4 separate regions of the Homo sapiens genome follow, and regions 1, 2 and 3 are each linked to region 4. Evidence: promoter capture Hi-C in human tissues and cell types (Jung and others, 2019). All regions are on one chromosome and are shown on one strand. The core of a region is centred on a gene start or on the middle of the fragment in contact, and the rest is flanking DNA. Distances in the headings are between cores, read along the strand shown.

Evidence for each region. The method cuts DNA at HindIII sites, captures the fragments that hold promoters and counts their contacts. A contact is called where the count stands out against the background at its distance.
Region 1: a fragment that was not itself captured here is called in contact with the fragment with the promoter of ACKR3 in region 4 in 3 of the 25 tissues and cell types used here (mesendoderm cells, spleen and stomach).
Region 2: a contact is called between a fragment that was not itself captured here and the fragment with the promoter of ACKR3 in region 4, in 2 of the 25 tissues and cell types used here (mesenchymal stem cells and mesendoderm cells).
Region 3: a contact is called between a fragment that was not itself captured here and the fragment with the promoter of ACKR3 in region 4, in 1 of the 25 tissues and cell types used here (pancreas).

Annotation. Positions count from the first base shown.
Region 1 is chr2:236,911,518-236,914,370 of GRCh38, reverse strand. The region is part of intron 2 of COPS8-DT (COPS8 divergent transcript); the gene reads left to right. Among named protein-coding and RNA genes, the nearest start is that of COPS8-DT, 170 kb to the left of the region's middle. The HindIII fragment of the contact is 5,661 bases long and covers 1-2,853 here.
Region 2 is chr2:236,830,677-236,833,514 of GRCh38, reverse strand. No RefSeq gene overlaps it. Among named protein-coding and RNA genes, the nearest start is that of COPS8-DT, 250 kb to the left of the region's middle. The HindIII fragment of the contact is 4,086 bases long and covers 1-2,838 here.
Region 3 is chr2:236,895,269-236,898,252 of GRCh38, reverse strand. No RefSeq gene overlaps it. Among named protein-coding and RNA genes, the nearest start is that of COPS8-DT, 190 kb to the left of the region's middle. The HindIII fragment of the contact is 4,359 bases long and covers 1-2,984 here.
Region 4 is chr2:236,568,362-236,571,255 of GRCh38, reverse strand. It overlaps ACKR3 (atypical chemokine receptor 3), which reads right to left and starts at 1,431. Exons shown (of 2, transcript NM_020311.3): 1 at 1,332-1,431. RefSeq lists an enhancer at 2,195-2,894. The HindIII fragment of the contact is 7,550 bases long and covers 1-2,894 here.

The sequences.
Region 1 (2,853 bases), core at 173-2,672, 340 kb before region 4:
TCCGGGAAACTTTGCACTACCTTTTCAATGGGCTTAAAAGAGTGGAGGAAAAATTGTCTTCAGACAACTTTAAACAGTTTTAAAACAGAAAATTTACTTACAGGGACTCCCTAGATGTTAGAAGAAAGCTCCAGGTAGCTGCAGGTAGCTAGGAAGTAGGAAGAGCCCACCTCTTCTTGGAATGGGGAAGAACACACATGAACTCTTATCTCATGAAATCCAATAGTCAACTACAACATGGTTTGTGTGAGTGAAAAGACCCCAGAATAAGACCACCTGGGTGAGCCTGTGCCTGGTGGTCTCAAAGCATCCCCCTCCTCCCATCCACCCCTGCTCTGCCCTGTATCATGGGGGGTCTGGCCTCTGCAGGCTATGAGCCCCGGGTTCCTGTGTCTCTGGCTTCTGACTGGGTTGGACCAATGGGAAGCCTGGAGGGACATGGGTGTGTACAGGAGTCTGGGTGGGCTTCTTGACTCTGTTTGTTGGGCTGTCTTGCCTGGAGGCTCTTTCCTTCTACAAGCCAGCTCCTGCCACAGAGACCCACCCTGGTTCTAGCTTCCCTTCAGTGAGTCTGATTCCTGGGCTCTGATAACTGCCTCCTTCCTTGTGCATCTGAGAGGTGGTAGCCACTTCCTGATGCTGTGGACACCAGGGTTGCCTCAATGTCCCTTGTCTGACGTTTTGGCTCTTCTACCATCTAGGAAGTCCCTGTAATTAAATTTTCTGTCTTATAAAACTTAGGATGACTGTTTATCCTCACTGGGTCCTGACTTAGTCACTTACTACTGTGTGGTTGTGGTCAAGCTTCTTTCTCCTGCTATGTTCAGTTTCCTCATCTGGAAAGCGGGATAATAATGGGTTCTTCCTTAGAGAACTCACCCCAGAGTGAGTTAAATAAGATAATACTCAGAGTTTGTTACTTGGAACTCACACAGTAAGTGGTAGATTTTGGAGTCTGTACCAGAGGGTCCTGAGGTGTGGGCTGAGGGTGATCTTTGGTGGTGCCTGTTCACTGGATTCAACAACTGCCAATCACAGAGTGAGGAAGTTGTTCACTTTTCAGGTGGTTCTGTTTTTTTCTGTCTCTCTTCTTCTGGATACAATAAAAGCTGCTCTCTGTTCCTAGTATGTCTTTAGAACTTGGAGTCTCCATGACCACGGGAGAAAGAGCAGGTCTCAGACTGAGGAAGTAGGACCCAACAGCATTGTTCTGTTTACATGGAATTTGCTTTTACAGCCAAATTCTACTGATGGCAAATGATACAGTTTTCCATTTCTGGAGGTGATAAAAAGTTTTTTTAATAATGAATTCATTTAAGTTTTTTGTTTTTTTTTAAAAAAAGATCGACTTGGAAAAACAGAAGTAAAAGAGTGCAGTTGGGAGGAGCTTGATGACCTGAGCTTAGAAGGCCTTTCCTGCAGACGTGCTCTGGGGCTAGTGGGTTGAATCAGGACACAGAACAACAAAGACAGTTTCTGCTTTCAAGGAGCGCATGGTTCTCAGCCAAATTCAACAGGAATAATATGACAGAACATAATTAAATAGCAAGTAATTTGTTACAGATGCAAATTCTGCAAAAGTTCAAAGACGCATGGGCCAACGGGGTCAGGAGAAGGCGGGATGGAGGAGGCGACTTAACAGGAGAGATTCCCGGTGGTGGGCACAGGTGCAGAGAAACGGGGACCTGGATTAGGGGAGCAAAGGAGAGCTAGCGTGACGGTGTGGCAAAAATGGGTTTTGAGTTTCTGGAGTAGAGATCCAGGTCGGTGTCAGAGGTGCTGGGGGTTCTGGGAAGGAAAATGATGACAAGTTGACGACAGGAAACGTGGAGTTCTGCATCATTAAGCGTCAGTTTCACGGGATGCTGTAGTCCTGGCAGAATCGTTTTTGGCTGTGGTGTGCAGGAGGGGTCTGCGGCTGAGCCACTGCAGAAGGGCTGGCCAGCTGGGAGGCTGGGAGGCAGATGCTGTAACCCTGGTGTGACCCTGTCCCTGCAGAGAGAGAGCCAGGGAAGGGGCCAGGTGAGCAGGGCCAGGGGGCAGCAGCACCATCATCCAGGGCACTCAGGGGTTAAAGCCTCATCTGGGGACACAGTGAGGAGCTGATCCCGGAAGGAAGAGGCTACGTAGTTCATATCAGACCATGCACACACACACACACACACACACACACACACACACACACACACCAGAGATCCAACTCTTCCTACAGTTTCTCACCAAGAAAGGTCATGGCTGGGTTGAAGAAAGTGAGGCAGGAGTGTTTTCCTTGCAAGGAACATTTGTGTGAAGAGGTCTCTCCCAAGGGTGCTCATATCAGGCAAAAGGTTCTGTCTGTGGGATCCCTGATCCATCTGATCTCCATCCTGCAGGAGCCTTGCTCTTCCTCATGGAGACGCGTTTGCATCTAGAGGGAAAATTGTGAGTAAAAGCCATGACTACAAAATGCACATGTGGATTCCACCGTGGAAAAGTGGGGAGCCCGGGGCCGGGCACAGCATCCGAAATGAAGGTGTGTCACAGGACAGTCGCATGCTCAGGCTGCCTCAACAGAGAAATAGGTGAAGGAGAGCATTTCTCTTTCCACAACTGACAAGAATTCTGTCTTAACGTGGACTGTTTTTGTCGTTGTTGTTGTTGTTTTTTATTTGAGACGGAATCTCACTGCGACACTCAGGCTGGAGTGCAATGGCACGATCTCAGCTCACTGCAACCTCTGCTTCACTTCCCAGGTTCAAGCAATTCTCCTGCCTCAGCCTCCCAAGTAGCTGGGATTACAGGTGTGCACCACCACATCTGGCTAATTTTTGTATTTTTAGTAGAGATGGGGTTTCACCGCATTGACCAGGCTAG
Region 2 (2,838 bases), core at 57-2,556, 260 kb before region 4:
TCTGTCTGGGAACATGGAGCCCTTGGTTTAGGACTTGGTGTTTAAGGGGGCATTTGTCAACCTACTGACTCATGGATCCCTGATACTAGCCAATGAAGAGATGGAGAGGACTGGGATTCCCCATCTAGTGATTCCTGCTGGTCTTAGAGCAGCAGTGGACGGGGCTCTTGCAAATCATTTGGCCCATAATTTCCATTTTATAGACAAAGAAACAGAGGTTCACAGCAGAGAGCGACTTGCCCACTGATACACATGCATGGTATAAAACTACTAGTGAAAATCTAAAGCAATTACAGGCTATATGCAGAGGGGTAGAGACTCTGGCATGCATCCTTCCATGGCCTCTGTTCACCGTGTACCCTTGGCCATCCTCAGCTCTGAAATTCCGTGACATTTGGCTCAGAATATATCTATCTCCCTACTCTTCTGACTTAGTCCTGTGTTCCTAACAGAAGAAATGAAATTCAAGTCCACAACTCCAAGACTGGAGAATTCTTTCTGAGGTTTCTGTCCTGGGGCCAGCCCTCCCCTTGTCTCTAGAACCCAGTGACTGGCAGAAAAGACAAAAATATAAATAGAAACAGTGACAATCACAGTCATTAATAACAATTAATGATAATAATAATAATTGCAATTCTCACCTACTTAGTACCTACTACGTGCCAGAGCCAGTGACTTTGAGACTGGTTATTCTATCCTCATTTCACAAATGAAAACACTGGTGCTCAGAGAGGTTAAGTGACCAGCCCCAAGTCACACTGACGGGATGGTGAGGATTTGGTCAGGTGGGAGTGATAAAGGACATTCTCTTCCCTGCTCTGAAATGGCCCATCAGGCAGAGCAGGTGCAGGAACAGGAGCAGTTCCTGCTGTACCTGTTTCAGGATTAAAGTGTAGCCTGAGACTTCAGGACACAGGAGCCTTTGGCAGAGCTGGCTGGAGGTGGTCTCTCCCTGGCTTTCAGAGATGGGCTCCCCTTCTTCCAGCCCCACAGGGAGCTTCCAATCCCACCATGAGGAGTAGGCTTCTCTTTCTAAAATGGCCCACAAAGCTCCAGGTCATCTGAGCAGCCCACCCCAGCACCCTCCTTCCTGCACATGTACCAGATGCCCCCACCTGCTCCCAGGCCTGCTTCTCCCTCACTGGGGGTCTTCAGAACAATCTGAGATGGCCCCAACCTGCTACCACTCCCACCCTTCACAGCCCACTTGGGCAGCCCCTCATCAGGAAGCTCTGGATGTGCCGCTTGGGTTAGGGGCTCTCCTTGACATGCCCCTGGATGGAGCACAGATCCCATGCAGTGAATCTGCAGCTGACCACAGCCTCTCCCCAGAGATGGTGTCTCCTAGAAGGCCCCTCCTAAGAGGGGCCATGTCTTCTTAATACCTGCATCCTTAACCCTGGCATCTTCCGGAATAACCCAGACCCTCAACCCATGTTTATTGAATTAAATAAAGAAATGAAGACAGACAGATTGGTTCGAGCGGTGTTTCTCAGCCTTTTATACTCCGTGCCCTTTTTAGTAAACATAGAAATCAGGTGCAGCCTCACCCAGCCTCACTGAAGACAGTGGGGTGCTGCACAGTTCCCCTCCCCACGCGTGCACAAGTATCTGCAGCTGTCAGCCAAGCCGTTTCTCTCAAGCTTAGTACCTGGAATCTATGTCCCCAGCACAATGTGTAACTTATCTCATTATCCAAACATTACACACAACACACTTTCTCAAAATGCATTTTGCTCCTCACCTTCAAAACTGGGATCCACTGCCTTAGGGGCCTTTGAAAACTCACTGAGTTATGGAGTTGAGTTGCAGTGACAGGTAACAATGGCTTGACTAAAGTCATGGTGATGGGAATGAAATAAGGAAACAGAATCAAGGAACACATCAGAGGAAGGACAAACAAAACTTGGCACATTTATCTCAGACTGTGCAACAGGCAGAGCCTAAGAGGGAAGCTGAGGCTTCTCACTCACCTCTCCCAGTCCCTTCCCTGATGGAGAGCCAGGCGTCATCAGCCACTATACATGGCAAGGCGAGGGAACAGAAGAGACCCTCAGCAGTAATCCATGGAGAGGGAAGAAAGAAGGGTGAAGTCCAGTCGACTCTGGGGGACACCAACCTTCAAGTCCCCCATGAGACAGCTGGCCACGCTTTGGGAGAGAGGCAGGAATCTCTCTGCATTTTTAGTCTAAGAAGAGAAGAGATATAGGAAAGCTGACCCTGTCCATAAAGGCTTGAGAATCTCACAAGTCAAATGACGATGTCAAGTCAAGTGGTACAAGAGACCTAGACTTCCTGGGGGCCATGAGAAGCCTGTGAGATGACGTGAATCTGAACTGGAAGAGCAGCCCTGCATTCTCTGGGCTCTAGTGGAGTCTGCAAGTTCAGTGGAGGGCCTTAGTATGATGGAAAGCACGTTTTTCTCACCAACAGAGAATGTGAGTGCAATAAAATGAGATCACAAGCAATCTTCAAGACTTCACCATTTTCTTCCATTTGTGGCAATAGAGAACTTCTAAAAATATCCATTTCACATAAGCAATGTAAAAATAACAACTTAAAAACAGTCATGCCAATGGATGGAGATTTTCCTGGGAAAATAAATCCCATGTGCTGAAATACAAATAAATAAATGAATAAATATGATTAATTCTGTGAAAGCACTATGGTTCTCCAGCCTCCAGGAATCACTGGCCTGTTGGGGTAGCCACCCCATAGGCATGGCTTCTTTCTTCCTCTATGGGTTTTTAATGGTCATTCACAAACTTTTCTGGGCGGTCTTTGCACTATGCCGAGTTCTAGAGGTGCAGAGCGGAATGAAACAGAGGCCTGTCCTCA
Region 3 (2,984 bases), core at 280-2,779, 330 kb before region 4:
CGTCAATAAGAGGCCTTGTCATTTTAATTAAATCTTTGACAATGTAGTTTGTGTAAAATGGTGTTTCTTTGTCGTAATTTGCATTTCTTTGATTGCTAGTATAGGTGAAACTTCTTTTTTTTTTTTTTTTTTTTTATTTATTTTTTTTGAGACGGAGTCTCACTCTGTCGCCCAGGCTGGAGTGCAGTGGCGCCATCTTGGCTCACTGCAAGCTCCGCCTCCCGGGTTCACACCATTCTCCTGCCTCAGCCTCCCGAGTAGCTGGGACTACAGGCGCCCGCCACCACGCCCGGCTAGTTTTTTGTATTTTTAGTAGAGGCGGGGTTTCACTGTGTTAGCCAGGATGGTCTCGATCTCCTGACCTCATCATCCGCCCGCCTCTGCCTCCCAAAGTGCTGGGATTACAGGCGTGAGCCACCGCGCCCGGCCCGAAACTTCTTAATAATTATTTTTTTAATTACAAAGGTAATATATGATACTTGTAAAATTTACAAATATTAAAATCTTTGAACTGGAATATTCAGCTTTTAAGTAAACATTTTCTATTGTCTCACGGTCGGTCCTAAATTAATCAGAGTTTAATACCATGCGGCACCCTCTTTCAGGTATCTTTTACCCCAGAATATATTATCTGAGTTCTTCCTTCTAAATCTGAGTTGATTAAGCCCTTTCCCCCTAAACAGAGACAAATTTCTCCCCAAGAGGAATGCAGGTGCCAGTTGTCAACGTATTGGTTATGTCATTCAACTCTGTTTTCAGTTTCTACTCTGAATATTATTTCTTCTCAAAGGATTGCTGTCACTCACACAGTTGAAATTTCTGTCCTCATCCTGTTCTCCATGTAGACATATTAAGACTTAAATTTTCAGAAGAATTACTGTGTAGTATTTTATAAATATGGCAGAATTTACCCATTTTCCCAGGTATGGACATTTTGGTTTTTTTCTAATATTCGTTTTTATAAATAACGCTTTAATAAAAGTCCTGATATGTGAGATTTTCTGTGGACTATCTCCTGAATTAGTAAAATGTAGCATTATAGGGTATTGCCATCATCAGCTTCACCAGAAGAGACAAACTGTCTTCCAATAAATTGTCCCATTTACACGTCCCCCTCCTCCTTCCCAAACCTCTAAACACAGGGCAGAAGAGTCATCTTTCCTCCACATCTTTACCAACATTGGCCATTGCCCTGTTCTTTCTCCTACAAATCTTAAAGCTTTACTTTTTAACCTAAATATACATGGACCAGCTTCTGAGCCCTCAAAGCCGTATCCTTGGTCTCTGTTTATCTCGTGTGTTGATGTCATCCTGTTCTAATTACTGTAATCTTATAAAGCCGGGATAAATGGTCAGGCAGTCTCCCCAGCCAACATCCTTCTTTAGGACATAGCTTCACTATCGTTAGACCTTTACCCTTTCGTAAGGATTTTATGATAAAGATTAATGTCAAGTTTTATTAACAACCCTGCAGGGTTTTGACTAGAATTGTATGGACTTTATCATAAGTTAAATCAGAGAGACTTGATATTGTTTTAAGGTTGGCTTCCCACTTGTAAATCCAGAACAAATTTCCACTTATTTAGTCATTTTCAAATTGTGTTATAATTTTCTCAATAAAAAATCAGGCTTGCATCATGTTAGATGCATTCCCAGATACTTGTAAGTTTTGCTTTATGGTTGGCAGAAACCTTTATAATTACATTTTCTAATTCATTGTTGCTGGAAATAATATCTGTGTTTCTTTCTGATTCTTCTCTCTGTATATTTTATCTCATTTGGAATTTGTTTAAGGCAGGGATTCTTTTCTTTGACTGATACTTTCTAGAATTTTAATATAATATTTATCAATTAAAACAATGGTAATAGACAACTTTTTTGTTCAAAAAACAAAACAATGCTTCTAATGTTTCACCACCCAAACGAGATGATGTCTAATTTTGTTGAGCCTTTTTAAAATCAAGTTAAGATTATTTGCTTATTGGTTTACTAAGAGTTATTTGATCACATATGAGTATTAAATTTAATTGAATTTTTTTCCTGTATCTACTGAGATGACCATATGTTTTCTTCATAAATCTGTCAACAGAGTGAATTATGTTAATAGATTTTCACATATTAAGTTATCAGTGCTCCTCATTCTTTTTGGTCAAAATGAAATACTTTCTCTTTCTTTCTTTTGTATCTTTTGTTTTCTGTTCAGTGTTTTTTCAGAATGTGATAGTTTCAGAGCTATATAATTTGTCCTTACTTCTCATAGTGACTAATTTTATAAGAACATGGATAGATAGCATTACATTTTCTTTTCAAAACTTCAGGAACAAAATTTTAAAATGAAATAATTCTACCAAAGCTACATCAAAACAGTGGAGGAAAGACTAGATGATTTGATGTTGGTACTACTTCTTCCTTTTGTTTATAAACCCAGGAATTTTAGTTTCTGTATATTAGACAGTATTTTAAAATTTTACTTCCCAATCTTTTCCTTCAAATGATTGACTTCACAGCATTGCATAAGTAGAATTATCGAGTTGTTTACCCTCAGTTCCACATGTCAGTGCTCACCGCCAGCCCTGTCATGATACCTTCCCTTTGTCTGAAGTCTTCATTTGCAGTCATTTCAAATATGGCTTACTAGTTTTTTCAGAAGGGATTCATTGACCTTTTTATTATGATTTTTTGTTGAATTTATACATGAAGAAAAACTTCACTGGGTACAAACATTAGGACTCTCATGTTCTCCTAAAGCTACCGTGAAATTTGCTTCTGCGATAGAGCTGTGTCGAGGACAAGTCTAAGGTCCATGTTGCTCTGCATTTTTCCTCCTTTAGGCCATGAGCCTTTTCTTCTGCCTGAAAGCTTGTAGTATTCTTTCTTAATCCTTAGAGTTAAATATTTCTAGCAAGACATACCTTAGGATTTATTTTTGTTATTAAAATTTTCCAGGAATATGATGTGGCCTTTCAAGCAGCAGATTGAATTCT
Region 4 (2,894 bases), core at 182-2,681:
AGCAAATTGTTTCCAAGCTAGAGCTCCCATGTGCAACTTTGCTTTAGAAAAGACTTTCCATCTGGGGAAAGCTCATATTCTGATGAAAGAAGGGCAAGCAGTTTATCCATTTAAAATCTATGGAAAGTTAAAGCACAGAAACCAGCAGCCTCCACTTTCTTTGCTAGGCGTGCCTAGCTGATGTCCACATTTTTCCTGGAATAAATAAAGGGACACTAAAAGCAGCATCTGCCTTTAAAAAAGAAAAGAACAAAGTTACCATGTTGAGACTTTGCAGACTGAAGTTTCAGGGGATGTCACTGCACCAAATACATTCAAAGGGCTGTAAACCATTTAAGGAGGCTCTCTCCCACTTTTGAAACACTAAGTAATCCTGTTGTGAGCAAAAGGAAAGAAAGAAAGAAAGAAAGAGGAAGAGAGAAAGAGAGACAGCCAGTCTGACTTTTACAACTTCTCATTCTCCCTGGAAGTTACAAGTCTTGGCTAACCACCCATCCCTGACCTCACTCCAAAGTTCTCTCAGTCACTCCTTGAATCTTTGCACATGCCAACAAAATTGAACAAAATCCACATTTTACCTGAAGAGTATATTTAAATTGCAAAATAGTAGATTTGTGTGTGTGCTTCCCCCAACCCCAATTGAAGTTGGACTTAACACCTTCTAAGAGAACAATACTCAAATTAGATTAGCAAGCGTGCCATCAAGAGAAGAGAAGACCGGGCTGTGTTTAACATTCACGTTTATAGCTTCCGGACTTACAGACTCTGGTAAATCCCCCAAAGTACTGAATTCAAATACATCTTGGACTCACAAAGATTCTCAGCAGTTTTCTGCTCCATTTAAGGATGCCTCTTAATAAAGTGTTCATCATTCTGGAATTACGTATTTACTGCCAATTTTATCTGTTTCCAAACTGATATACTAGAAGCAAAACAGGTAAACAGTGGGTGCCAAGCTAATCCCCATGCCAAATTGGTCAGGCAGAATGGATAGTCTGTGTTCTTGCAAAGTTCCCCTGCTTACTGGAGCTTAAATAGCCACACAGCAAATAAACACCAGATTCCTAAATACACATGGAAATTTCCTTCTGCAAGTGACTTAAGAAAACTGCCCTTTGCTTTCTGAAGAGAAAGGTGAAGCCCTCCGAATTAGCAAAAGCACTTTGCAATGCAGCTGCGTGCAGCCTGGGTTTTCAGAAACCAGACCCGCAGACTCAAAAGCACCCATCTGAGCGATTTTAAAGAAGGCCTTTGAAAAGACCACTTGGCTTAAGAGCAGAAGCCGTGCCTTCTTTCCGAGCAGAGCTGCTGCCCGAGCACCGTTTCCTTACCTCCGGGCTGGCTGGGCTGGCTGGGCTGGCTGGGCTCGCTCGCCTTCCTGGCTGTGCTGTGCGCTGGCTCCCTTAGTGCTGAGCACTTTGCAACAACTGTGAGCTCTGCTGGCTGCAGACTTGCATTATATACACTGCAGAAAGGAGCCTCTAGCCTCTAGATGGCAGCTTTGTAACCCACATCTCTCTCTCCCCCGTGCCACCCCCATCCCACAGGCAGACACACACACACACACACCCCCCTCTTGTAAACCTCACTAGTCTGTTGTTTCCTGCACAAGTGTACTCTTGGGAAACCCCAGCCTTCTTTCATTTGCAAAATCTGGTGAAGCCACAAAGTCCAAACCCCACGGGGGGAAAACGTCAGCCAAAGACAAACTGCAAAGAAACCCTAGTGCTTGGCAAAATCATCAAATATTTATCTGGTCTCAGGTATATCTTGAATAATCCCATTAACACCAAGAGCTCCTGTGAATGCCTCTTCGCTCTAGGGAGGACTTTGTTCCCAAGACAAATTACTCTGAACTTCTGAACTTCGATGTTGATTTACTAAGCCTGGGTTTTCCTTGTTAATTCCTCCAAAACAGAAGTAACAGTTTTGGTATGACCAATGAATCGATGCCACACCGTATATCCCCAAAGTGGAGAAAAGAGTCTTTATAATAGATTATACTTGAATACTTTTATTTGTAAAGGACTTTAAGTACAAAATCCTTGAGACTCTAATCAAGATAGTATTCTACAGTGTCTGCCCAGTGCCAGACACGCATTAGGAAGATAATAAATGCCTTTTGATAATGTCTTTTTCTGAGATGAGTCTGGCAAACACTTTACTACAATTATTGCAATCTACATTCTTATTTGGATGCGTATTGCTAAAGTTCCCCCCACGGAGGAATTCAACCTAAAAATGTGATCCAGGTGATACTCATCTCCAATGCCCCATTTACAAAAATCGTCCATAAGATAGGGACCCAAAGGCCACCCGCCAGCCCATCCCATGTGCAATGCTCTGGCTTTCGTATTGCTTTCTGATCTCCTGGAGTTCTTAAAGAGCGGCTCAAGTGGAGTGTATGAAGGCACCAGCTGTATTCACGCCTTCTCCAGAGCTAAAACTTTTCGAGATTCTTTTTATACTTCTACTAAAAATAACAGCAGACGCTCGGTCCCAGCGCTGAATCTGGGGGACTGGGAGGTCAAAGTCTCACGTGGCTAGAAAGTCTCCGTGTGGAGAAAGCCCTTAACGAAAGAAATATTTTGTTTAGCTAAAAGCTTCACATTTTTCTCCTGAACTGGCTGCCCAGCGGGAGGCGAGGTGCACACCTGCTCTCCGGGGGCCTCCGGAGGGGTCGCCCTGGGGCCGGCCTTTCCCAGCCCGAGCGCAGCGTCCCGCCACCGCCTCTGCAGGGCGGCGCAATCACTCTTCGTGTCACATCGGCACCAAGGACATCTCCAGGCTCCCCAGAGACGCTGGAAAGGAAAACTGCCAGCGGCTGCGTCTACCCACACCCAAGATCTAGGCGAGACCTCGACTCTCCACAGCATACGTGTCCTGACTTTTTC